Regions from separate parts of the Homo sapiens genome. Here region 1 is linked to region 2. The links are contacts of gene promoters, found by promoter capture Hi-C in blood cells and fetal thymus (Javierre and others, 2016). All regions are on one chromosome and are shown on one strand. The core of a region is centred on a gene start or on the middle of the fragment in contact, and the rest is flanking DNA. Distances in the headings are between cores, read along the strand shown.

Region 1 (5,905 bases), core at 848-3,347, 300 kb before region 2:
TCAGGTCATCAGGAGGAGGAAATAAAATGAATCAGGTACATCACCTAGCAGGACTGCCTGATGCGTAGAGAGTGTTCATTGAGCTGCGATAATGTTTTTGTGCTGGTAGTAGGCAGGATGAGAACCTGCCCCTAGCCCCAGGCCTCCTGCCCAGGGCTTCTCCTCCTTGGTGAATTGTACGGCCAGAAACAGGGTGACCTTCATCAAGCCAGGATTACATTCCCAGTGTCTTTGGAGTGTGGGGCAAGGGGGTCGGCTGTGCAGCAGCTGCACCAGCTGCCCTGAAAGAGAAGGGGTCTTAGGCCGGGCACGGTGGCTCATGCCTGTAGTCCCAGCACTTTAGGAGGCCAAGGCAGGTGGATCACTTGAGTTTGGGAGTTTGAGACCAGCCTGACCAACATGGAGAAACCCCATCTCTACTAAAAATACAAAAAATTAGCCAGGCGTGGTGGTGCATGCCTGTAGTCCCAGCTACTCGGGAGGCTGAGGCAAGAGAATCATTTGAACCCAGGAGGCGAAGGTTGTGGTGAGCCGAGATCACGCCATTGTACTCCAGCCTGGGCAACAAGAGCGAAACTCTGTTTAAAAAAAAAAAAAGAGAAGTGGGTCTGAGTCTCTGGGAAGCCGCAGTGGGGTCTAGGCCTTGAATCAGCCCTGGACGCCAAGGCCGGAGGACGCTGAGCCTTGGTCTTCTCCTGCTCCATCTCCCTGTAGCTCCAGTGTCATTCCCCACCTACCCTTTGTGCTCACACAATGTCAGGGCCAAAGGAATGCCTGCAACACAGCAAAAAGCTTTATTGTTTTTTCTGTCTGTAGAAGTGATTATTATCCATTGCAGTAACAAAAATTGGAAAATTCAGTAAAATATAAATTAAGAGTATCATAGATTGGGTGTGGTAGTTCACTCCTGTAATCCCAGCCCTTTGGGAGGCTGAGGTGGGAGGATTGCTTGAGCCCAGGAGTTTGGGGCCAGCCTGGGCAATATAGCAAGACCCCAGCTCTAAAAGAAAAAATTCAAAAATTAGCTGGGCATGGTAGTGTACATCTGTAGTCTCAGTTACTTGAGAGGATTCCTTGAGCCCAGGAGTTTGAGGCTGCAGTGAGCCGTGATCCTGCCACTGCACTCCAGCCTGGGTGAGAGTGAGCCCTGTTCTCCAAAAATAAAAAGAGTACCCTAAATCCTAAATTTCCAGGTATTTTTGTTATACACATATAGATACAGATTTTTTCATAAGAATGGAATCCTATTATGCTTGCTTCTTAAAAATCAGAATGCCAGGTGCCAGCTAATTTTTGTATTTTTGGTAGAGTTGGGGTTTCACCGTGTTGGCCAGGCTGGTCTTAAACTCCTGACCTCAGGTGATCCGCCCGTCTCGGCCTCCCAAAGTGCTGAGATACAGGCGTGAGCCACCGTGCCCAGCTGAAATTTTATCTTCTTAAAGTCTCTTAAGTACCTGTTTTAATCTGCATGCTTTCTTTTTCTTTCTTTCTTTCTTTTTTTTTTTTTAGGTTTGGGGGCGCACAGAGTCTAGCTCTGTTGCCCAGGCTGGAGTGCAGTGGCGCAATCTCAGCTGACTATAACCTCCACCTCCCAGGTTCAAGGGATTCTTCTGCCTCAGCCTCCTGAGTAACTGGGATTAGGGGTGCCCACCACCATGTCTGGCTAATTTTTATATTTTTAGTAGAGACGGGGTTTTGCCATATTGGCCAGGCTGGTCTCGAACTTCTGATATCAAGTGATCCTCCTGCCTTGGCCTCCCAAAGTGCTGGGATTACAGGCAGAAGCAACCTTGCCCAGCCTACAGGCTTATTTTTGAACCTGCTTTTTTTTTCTTTTGACTTGGTGGTATATCTTGGACCTCATCGATGTTAGTAAATGTGACGCCTTTTTATTTATTTTTAAAATTTTGTTTTAGAGATGAGGTCTCACTATGTTGCCCAGGCTGGTCTCAAACTCCTTTGTTGTTGTTGTTGTTGTTGTTGTTTTGGAGACAGAGTCTCGCTGTGTCGCCCAGGCTGTAGTGCAGTGGTGAGATCTCAGCTCACTGCAACCTCCTCTTCCTGAGTTCAAGTGATTCTCCTACCTCAGCCTCCCGAGTAGCTGGGATTACAGGTGCCTACCACCACGCCTGGCTAATTTTTGTATTTTTAGTAGAGACAGGGTATCACCATGTTGGCCAGCCTGGTCTGGAACTCTTGGCCTCAAGTGTTCCACTCGCCTCAGCCTCCCAAAGTGCTGGGATTACAGGTGTGAGCCACCATGGCCAGCCTCAGCTAATTTTTAATTTTTTTGTAGAGATGGGGTCTCACTGTGTTGCTCAGGCTGGTCCTGAACTCCTGGCCTCAGGTGATTCTCCCACCTCAGCCTCCCAAAGTGCTGGGATTACAGGTGTGAACCACTGTGTCTGGCCCCAGCATGATGTTTGTAAGGTTTATCTATGTTACAGCATGTGTCAGCACTTTAGTCCTCCTTTTTATTGCTGAATAATATTCCATTGTATGAATATACCACCTTTCATTTATCCATTCATCAGCTGATGGACATTTGGGTTGTGGTTGTTTCTATTTTGGGGGAATAATGCTGCTATGACTAGTCATGTAAGATTTTTTTTTTGAGATGGAGTCGTACTCTGTTGTCCAGGCTGGAGTGCAGTGGTGCGATCTTGGCTCACTGCAACCTCTGCCTCTGGGGCTCAAGCGATTCTCATGCCTCAGCCTCCTGAGTAGCTGGGACTACAGGTACATGCCACCACACCTGGCTATTTTTTTTCTATTTTTGGTAGAGACAGGGTTTCACCATGTTGCCCTGGGTGTTCTCGAACTGCTGAACTCCGAAAATCCACCTGCCTTGGCCTCCCAAAGTGCTGGGATTACAGGCATGAGCCACTGCGCCCGGCCTTATGTAAGTTTTTATGTGAATACATGTTTTCATTTCTCTTGGGTATATACCTTTTAGGTGCAGAATTGCTGGATCATGTAACTCTATATATAACCTTTTGAACTGCCAGGCTTTTTCCAAAACGTTTTACATTCTTACCAGCAGTGTATGAGGGTTCTGATTTCTCCATATTCTCATCAACACTTGTTATTATCTGTCTTTTTTATTATAACTAACCTAGTGGGTACAAAGTGCTATCTCATTGTGGTTTTGACTTGCATTTTCCTAATGACTAATGATGTTGAGTATCTTTTCATGTGCTTATTGGCCATTTGTATGTCTTCTTTGGAGAAATGTCTATTTACATCCTATGCCCATGCATTAGTCTGTTTGCATTGCTATAAAGGAATAGCTGAGACTGAGTAATTTGTAAAGAAAAGAGGTTTATTTGGCTCACAGTTCTACAGGCTGTACAGGACACATGGCACCAGCACCTGCTCCTGGAGTAGGCCTCAGGAAGCTTCCAATCATGGCAGAAGGCAAAGGGGAGCCAGTGTGAGCAAGAGAAAGGGTGGGCACTGCCAGCCTCCTTCAGACAACCAGCTCTCTTGTGAACTAACAGAGCAAGAACTCCCTCATTACTGTGAGGAGGGCACCAAGCCATTCATGAGGGAGTCACCTCCGTGACCCAAACATCTCCCAGCAGGCCCCACCTCCAGCGCTGGAGATCACATTTCAACATGAGATTTGGAGGAGACAAACATCCCAACCATATCTGCCTGTTTCTATTTTTATTTTTTAAATTTTGAGGTGGAGTCTTGCTCTGTCACCCAGGCTGGAGTGCAGTGGTGTGATCTTGGCTCACTGCAACCTCCACCTCCTGGGTTCAAGTGATTCTCCTGCCTCAGCCTTCTGAGTAGCTGGGATTACAGGCGTCTGCCACCACGCCGGGCTAATTTTTATATTTTTAGTAGAGATGGGGTTTCTCCATGTTGGCCAGGTTGGTCTTGAACTCATGACCTCAGGTGATCTGCCCACCTCAGCCTCCCAAAGTGCTGGGATTACAGGAGTGAGCACCACACTTGGCTCAGCCCATTTTTAAACTGGGCTATTTGTCTTTTATTATTGAGTTGTAAGGGTTCTTTATATATGCTGGTTAGAATCTGTTATCAGATATATGATTGTCAGTTATTTTCTCCTATCCTGTGGGTTGTCTTTTCACTTTTTTGATAGTGTCCAGTCTCAAGCGATCCTCCTGCCACAGCCTCCCAAAGTGCTGGGATTTCAGGTGTGAGCCACCATGCCTGATGCAAAATTTTAAATTCTGATGAAGCCTAGTCTATTTTTTCTTTGGTTGCTTGTGCTTTTGGTATCATATTTATGAAACTATTGCCTAATCCAAGGTCATGAAGATTTATGTCTATGTTCTCAGAGTTTTATAGTTTTAGCTCCTACATTTGTTTTCATCCACTTTAATTTTTGTGTATGGTGTGAGGCAGGGGTCTGACCTCTTTCTTTTGCAAGACTCTGTTTTCCCCATTGAACTCCACCATTAAATATGTTCGGCTCTTGCGGCTGAACCAAATGTGAGGGTTTATTTCTGGACTCTCAGGACTCTTATTTATATTTCATTGATCTCTATGTCTGTCCTTATGCCAGTACCACATTGTCCTGATTACTGTAGTTTATTATAGTAATTTTTGAAATTGGAAGTGTGTGCACTCCAACATTGTTCATTTTTTCTTCTTCTTTTTTTGGGGAAGGATCTTGCTGTGTCACACGGGCTGGAATGCAGTGGCACATTCTTGGTTCACTGCAATCTCTACCTCCCAGGTTCAAGTGATCCTCCCACCTCAGCCTCCTGAGTAGCTGGGACTACAGGCACATGCCACCACACCCAGCTAAATTTTTGTATTTTTTGTAGAGATGAGGTTTCACCATATCACCCAGGCTGGTCTCAAACTCCTGGACTCAAGTGATCTGCCCACCTCGGCCTCCCAAAGTGCTGGGATTACGGACATAAGCTACCACGCCTGGCCCACCATTATTCTTTTTCAGGACTGTTTTAGCTTTTCTGAGTCCCTTAAATTTCCATATGAATTTTAGGATCAGCTTGTCAATTTCTGTAAAGAACCAAGTTGGAATTTTGATGGAGATTGTGTTGAATCTGAAGATCAATTTGGGGAGTCTTGCCATCTTAATGGTATTGGGTCTTTAGATCTATGAACATTGGTATTTTTCCATTTATTTATGGCATCTTTAATTTCTTTAAACAATGTTTTGTAGTTTTCAGATTATAAGTTTTGTACTTCTTTTATTCCTAAGCATTTTATTCTCTTTGATGCTAGTATAAATTGAATTATTTTCATAATTACATTTTTGAAGTGTTCATTGCAAATGTGTAGAAGCTCAATTGATTTTTGTATATTGATCTTGTATCCTGCAACTTTGCCAAACCCAATTATTAGTTATAACTTTTTTTTAGTGGATTCTTTAGGATTTTCTCTTTTTTTTTTTTTCGCTCCATCACCCAGGCTGGAGTGCAGTGGCGTGATCTTGGCTCACTGCAAACTCTGCACCCCAAGTTCAAGCAATTCTTGTGCTTCAGCCTCCTGAGTAGCTGGGGTTACAGGCACACACCACCACGCCTGGCTAATTTTTGTATTTTTAGTGGAGACATGGTTTTGCCTTGCTGGCCAGGCTGGTCTTAAACTCCTGACCTTAGGTGATCCACCTGCCTTGGCCTCCCAAAGTGCTGAGATTACAGGCATGAGCCACTGCTCCCAACCAAGATTTTCTATATATAAGATCATGTCATCTGCAAGTAGGGATAGTTTTACTTCTTCTTTTGCAATCTGGATGACTTTATTTTCTTGCCATTGTACCCAGTACAGTGTTGAATACAAGTCGTGAATTCAACTTTGCCGTAAGAGTGGACATCCTTGTCTTGTTCCTGGTCTTGGGGAAAGCACCCAATCTCTCACCATGAAGTATGATACCAGCTGTAGGAACACTCTTCTTAGAACT
Region 2 (6,100 bases), core at 2,490-4,989:
GTTTTTGAGACAGAGTCTCACTGTCGCCGCTGGAGTGCAGTGGTGTGATCTGGGTTCACTGCAACCTCCACCTCCCGAGTTCAAGTGATTCTCCTGCCTCAGCCTCCCGAGTAGCTGAGGTTACAGGCATGCACCATCACCATGCCTGGCTAATTTTTGTATTTTTAGTAGAGACGGGGTTTCACCATGTTGGCCAGGCTGGTCTCGAACTTCTGGCCTCAGGTGATCCGTCTGCCTCGGCCTCCCAAAGAGCTGGGATTACAGGCGTGAGCCACCGTGCCCGGCCTGGGACTCTTAAAAAGTTCCCCCTCACCTACCATCCAGTCCCATTCAAAGAAATGGAAAATTCTAAAACAAAAAACACACACAAGATACTCAAATTGCATATCACATTCTCAACAAGTCCTTTTTCTTTTTTTCTTTTTTTTTTTTTTTTGAGACGAGTCTTGCTCTGTCACCCAGGCTGGACAGTGGCATGGCCTTGGCTCTCTGCAACCTCCACCTCCCAAGTTCAAGTGATTCTCCTGTCTCAGCCCCCTCAGTAGCTGGGATTACAGGCGTGCACCACCACACCCGGCTAATTTTTGTATTTTTAGTAGAGACTGGGTTTTACCTTGTTGGCCAAGCTGGTCTAGAACTCCTGACCCTGTGATCCACCCACCTCGGCGTCCCAAAGTGCTGGGATTACAGGCGTGAGCCACAGCGCCCAGCCTCATTATTTTTTTAGAGTCAGGGTCTCCCTCTATCACCCAGGCTGGAGTGCAGTGGTACAATCAATCATTGGGCACTGCAGCCTCCAACTCCTCGGCCTAAGCTATCCTCAGCCTCCTGAGTAGCTAGGACCACAGGTGTGTACCACCATGCCCAGCTCATTTTGTTGCTGTTGTTGTAGAGACCGGGTCTATGTTGCCCAGGCTCATCTCGAATTCCTAGCCTCAAGTGATTATTCCACCTCAGACTCCCAAAGTCTCGCAAATCCTTTTTCACATGTATAACAGCACCACAAAGTAATTCCTACTCATAGGCTGGGCGCGGTGGCTCACGCCTGTAATCCCAGCACTTTGGGAGGCCAAGGTGGGCGGATAACCTAAGGTCACGAGTTCGAGACCAGCCTGACCAGCATGGAAAAACCCCATCTTTACTAAAAATAAAAAATTAGCCGGGTGTGGTGGCAAACAAACGAAAAACAAACAAACAAAGTAATTCCTATTCATATTACTATTTTTAATGAAGAGCCTTAGAAGAAAAAGAGGAATAACTTACCCTGATAACCTGGCTTGAAGTTGAGTCAATGATAAAACAGAAATAGCAACCTCGATGTTGAAGTTCAGACCACGGTAAATTCGAGAATCTAAAGAGACTTAACAGTGGACCCCAAATTCCTAAAGTCAACTAGTAAGAGCCAACAGAACTTTGAGACAAACAGATTTCATAATTCTGTCAAGACATAAATAACACAAGACTTAAAAGTACTTTCACCTACCTCTAACAAGTAAAACTCTGGCAAGCAAATTTCCTTGGGTGCCCAGGGTCATAAACACCCGCATAACAGGAACGCCAAGGAGAATGTCAATGAACACACAAAACTCATTGTCGAGGAGGAGAACGAGAGCTCTCTCCCACTCCCCATCAGGCCTATATTTGTTTCCAGGTGCAGAACCGTTAGAGAAATCCTGAAATTTCTACAAGATCCTGAAAACTAGCCCAAGCTTCCAATTTTGACTCAATCAGAAAAAAAATATTTCGGAACCTCAAAATCTTCAAACTTCACATGCCAGGCCAAAATAAACTGAAGCACAAAACTTCAGCATACAAACAATTGCTATTTTTGTTCCCTGGGCAACAAATGACTAGGGAAGAGGATAGCAAGCACCAATGAAAATTCTGTAGCCCAAATTCCTTCAGTTTTTATAAATCTGTAACTTTTACAGACTTCGAGAAAGAAAAAGGTGTACTTCAGGTTTGTGTCAACCCCCCCAATACAGTCTATTTTTTTTTTTTTTGCACAACACCTTTGAAGCAGAAAACTCACTTCAAAATAAGAGAGAAAATTAAGTCTGAGCTTCACTCATCATTAAAACTGAATTACAACCATTACATATAAACTACAGTGTCAAGAGACACTTATGCTATCCGCACCACAACCTCGCTGTGTGACAGATCTTAGGAACTGACATCTTAGTATAACCTGTTACTACTGGTATCAGCAGATAATTACCCGAATATGTCTCAAAGTGTCTGAGCTTTGTGGGAGTAATCCAAAAGGAAGCTATTTCACCTGCAAGTCCTCTGACGCTCTGAACACAAAATTCACAACCCCCATCGGTTGAACGAGACGGCTTCAAACACTCAAGTTACGCTCTCCCTTGCTAAATCCTCAGTGAACAACGTCTCCCAACAGAGATACTTTGTCTTTGTCCAACATACATTCTTTGCAAAGTGGATTCAGTTCTCCTCAAAATACCAATTTCCAGTCCAGCTTCTGAAGGCAAACAGCCCAGTCTGCGTTTCTCAAAGTGGGGTCCGTGAGCCACTGCGTTTGAATCACCTGGGAAGCTGGTGAAAGCGCAGATTCCCAGGCTCTATCCCAGACCCTGAGGCTCAGCAGGTCTTACGAAGGGCCCTAGGAGTAGCGTTCCTAACCGCCTCCCAGGTGTCGCCCACAGGACACTAAAGTTAGAGAACCGCTGCTCAGGGTTCAAGCTGGGAGTAAGCACTTGCTTCCCTCCACGCACCTGGTTTAGATTGGGAAAGCTCAACATGCCATTGGCGTCCTTGAATGTGGGGTCGCTTTTCCACCCCCGGAGTCAAAGGCACCACCCCATTACCCACCAGGAAGCGAGGGAGGAGCTTCCGACCCTTCCCGGAAACCCAACTCCCCCGGGTGAATGAACGAAGCTGCCCCAGACCCCCAGACGCTGCCAAATAGTGGGGGAGGGGACGCGGGACCCCGCTGCCCAGAGTGGGAGGAGCCGGCCTGCCAGCTCGCCCCTCCGCCGGAATTTAGCTGCGCGGGGCGGGGGGGGCGCGAGGGCGAGCGGAAAAAGGCGCCACATCCCATCCCGGCGGAGCGCTCCCCACCCCTCGCCTTGCGGGGCTGTCCCGTTCTTAAAGGAAGATGGCCCCGCCCCCTCCCGCGGTGGGCAGGGCCTTGCCCCTCCCCCCCCAGTGGGGGGGTGCGCGGCGAGCCCCCCCCACCCCGGGCCCCACGGAGCCCCCCTCGGCTGTCCGCCTCACCAGGCGCGCGGCCTCGGCCCACGTGCGCTCCTTCTTCTTCTTCTGTTTGTCCTTCATCCTTCTCCCCGGCGGCGGCGGCAGCTCCACGCGGGACCTCCGGGCTGGGCGGGCTGGGGCGGTGGCGCGGGGCTGGGGCGGCGGCGGCGGTGGGGGGGGCGCGTGGCAGCGGCGGCGCGCGAGGTCTCGGGTGCGGCCGGGGAGAAGGGGCGGGCACGCGGGGACCGGCTGGCGCGAGAGCGGCGGTGGGGGAGGGGCGGCGGCGGCTCCACGCGCCCGCGCTGCGTCAGTCGCCCACGGCGGCAGCGGCGGCTGCCCCGCGATCGCTAAGGAATGCGGCGGCTCCGCATAACCACGGGGTCAGAGGTCACGGCTCCGGCCTCCGCTTTCCCGCTCTGCTGAGGGACTGAGACAGGACCGACGGCGGGGCGGGAGGGCGAGACGCGGCTTTCCCTTCGGCGCCCGGGTGCGTGCGTGTCTGCCGTGGGTGTGTGTGAGTGTGTGTGAAGAGTGAGGAGGGGGAGTGTGGGGTTTTTTTTTTTTGAACAAAAACAAACCGAAAGGGCGCCTGGGAGTCGTAGTCCCAACGGCCTCTCTGGCCTCCCCCGCTCCGGAAGAATATGGCCGCGTGAAGCGCGTGGACCACACTTCCCGGCGTGCCCGGCGGCCCCCTTCCGCTCTCCCTCTCGCGTCCTCCGCCTAGCACCGACCTCAGCTAGGAACGGGGACGGGTCGCTGTTCGGGGAAGGGGCTGGGTGGAGTCTCGCGAGGTGCGAGAACTGGCTGGGGGCCTGCGGGATTCTGGGAGGCGATGCTGGGAAGGGGCGGTGGCTGGGCTCCCCCGGCCACCCTTAACCCCTTCGGTGCTTTTTGCTTCAGGACCTCCTGGCGGGTGCGGGTGGGGAGTGAGGATGGGGAGCTCGACTCGCAGTTCCCACTTCGTGCTTCTCCTCGCCTAAACGGTTCTTACCTACACTTCTCGTAGGGGACGAGAGGCAGGACTTTCCCTTTTGGTCACCTCTAAATGACTCACTGCCACATAATAATGAGACAAAAAGACCCTCATACCAGTAAAACGGTTATTCCACGGCTGATGGACTTAGACGGTTCTTCATTTCTTCCTGTGCTTTCAGGCCGCTGTGTATTTGCAGAGCCTGCACCAGCAGCCTAGAGCGTTCTTAGGAACTTGGTGATATGTTGACGGGTCGTGTAAAGAACTTGGACTCTGGGGCCATACTGACCAGAATGCACCTGAGGGCGTTTTTAGAGGCAGTACCCTGGAGAGAATTCAGGCCCTGGAGTCCAGCGGACCTAGACTGGAATCTTGGCTGAGTCACTCCCTGGCTGTCCACTCAACCTCTCTGAGCCTCAGTTTTCTGATCTGCATTTGTCTTGTATTTCATGGCATTATTGGAATTAAAATTAACATACAATTCTTGACAGATTGGAAGAGGATGTGAAGGGAGATCTTGACATTATCAGGTCCGTATGATATGGCGCCTGGCATAGAGCAAATGTTTAATAAATGGTAGCTGTTATTACCAGCTGAGAAACAATAGGCAATATACTTAGCCTCTCTGAGCCTTAGTTTTAGAACCTGAAATGAAATTCAGAGCGCCCAGCACATAGGTTTTCTGTAACTATAGGTTCAGTCGTTGTCCAGAAACATTTCTAGAGTCCGTCCGGAGTTGGATTGATGCCAGCTCTTAAAAACTATGAAGGCAGGATCAGTGGCCACATTTAAACGGTTTCCCTGGGTGAGGAAACACACTCTCCACTCCCTAATGTTAACACGTAGCGAGAGCCAGTATTGATAGGAGACCATTATGGTGTAGCCCAAACTCTAACGCCAAGGGGTTCAGTGTTTTCTGCTTCTAATACTGGTCACAGAAAACTTGTGAGTCCGGTAAGCAAAATCCTACAAAGGGAAAAGACTGCAAGTTAGAATAAGACACCTCTTAAAAATCTCTCTAGCTTTACCCTGAGAGAAAGGAGGAACTACTGTCCCTCAAAAAACTGTTTGCCTTGATTTTTTACAAAGGATTTTTAACTTCTTTTTTTTCAATCTACGGCTGATACAGTACTCTTTGGCAAGTCATTTGGCTTCTTTCCGATGTCTTCTGAAGTAGCTTTACTGCCCTCTGACCTACAGGGAATAACTGAAATTTACATGTTTAATACAGGTACTGTGGTAGACAGAATAATGTCTTCCCCGCTTGCCCAAAACTGTCCAAGTCCTAGTCCCTGGAACCTGTGAATATGTTGCTTTTTTATTTATTTATTTATTTATTTTTTGAGACAGAGTCTCGCTGTGTTACCCAGGCTGGAGTGCAGTGGCGTGATCTTGGCTAACTGCAACCTCCGCCTCCTGGGTTCATGCGATCCTCCTGCCTCAGCCTCCCAAGTAGCTGAGATTACAGGCATGCGCTACCATGCCCAGCTAATTTTTGTATCTTTAGTAGTGACTGGGTTTCTCCATGTTGGCCAGGCTGGTCTTGAACTCCTGACCTCAGGTGATCCACCCATCTCGGCCTCCCAAAGTGCTGGGATTACCAGCCAGCATTCTTTGGCAAAAGATATTTTGCCAATGGAAATAAAGCCCTTAAAATTAGATGATTCCGTATTATATGGGTGAGCCCAGTGTAATCACATGAACCCTTAAAAGCACAAAAGGGAGGCAAAAGAGATGTTTTGGAGAGATGAGGCAGAGGAATTAAATTCAAAGTATGAGAGGAATTCAACCCACTGTTACTGGCTTTGAAAGTGGCCACAAGCCAGGGAATCCAGGCAGCCTCCAAAAGCTCAGAGGAAGTCCTGCCAAGAGCCAGCAAGGAAATGGGGACTTCAGTCCTACAACCTCACAGAG

The links. Contacts are between HindIII fragments. The CHiCAGO score rates a contact against its expected background, and 5 or more counts as called.
Region 1: a fragment that was not itself captured here is called in contact with the fragment with the promoter of ASXL1 in region 2 in 1 of 17 cell types (naive CD8 T cells); the score reaches 5.5 in naive CD8 T cells.

Annotation. Positions count from the first base shown.
Region 1 is chr20:32,653,573-32,659,477 of GRCh38, reverse strand. All of the region lies in intron 1 of C20orf203 (chromosome 20 open reading frame 203), which reads left to right. Among named protein-coding and RNA genes, the nearest start is that of C20orf203, 17 kb to the left of the region's middle. The HindIII fragment of the contact is 2,606 bases long and covers 795-3,400 here.
Region 2 is chr20:32,355,970-32,362,069 of GRCh38, reverse strand. ASXL1 (ASXL transcriptional regulator 1) reads right to left here and starts at 3,739. Exons shown (of 13, transcript NM_015338.6): 1 at 3,238-3,739. The coding sequence starts at 3,294. RefSeq lists silencers at 3,040-3,199, 3,440-3,489. The HindIII fragment of the contact is 9,109 bases long and covers 1,712-6,100 here.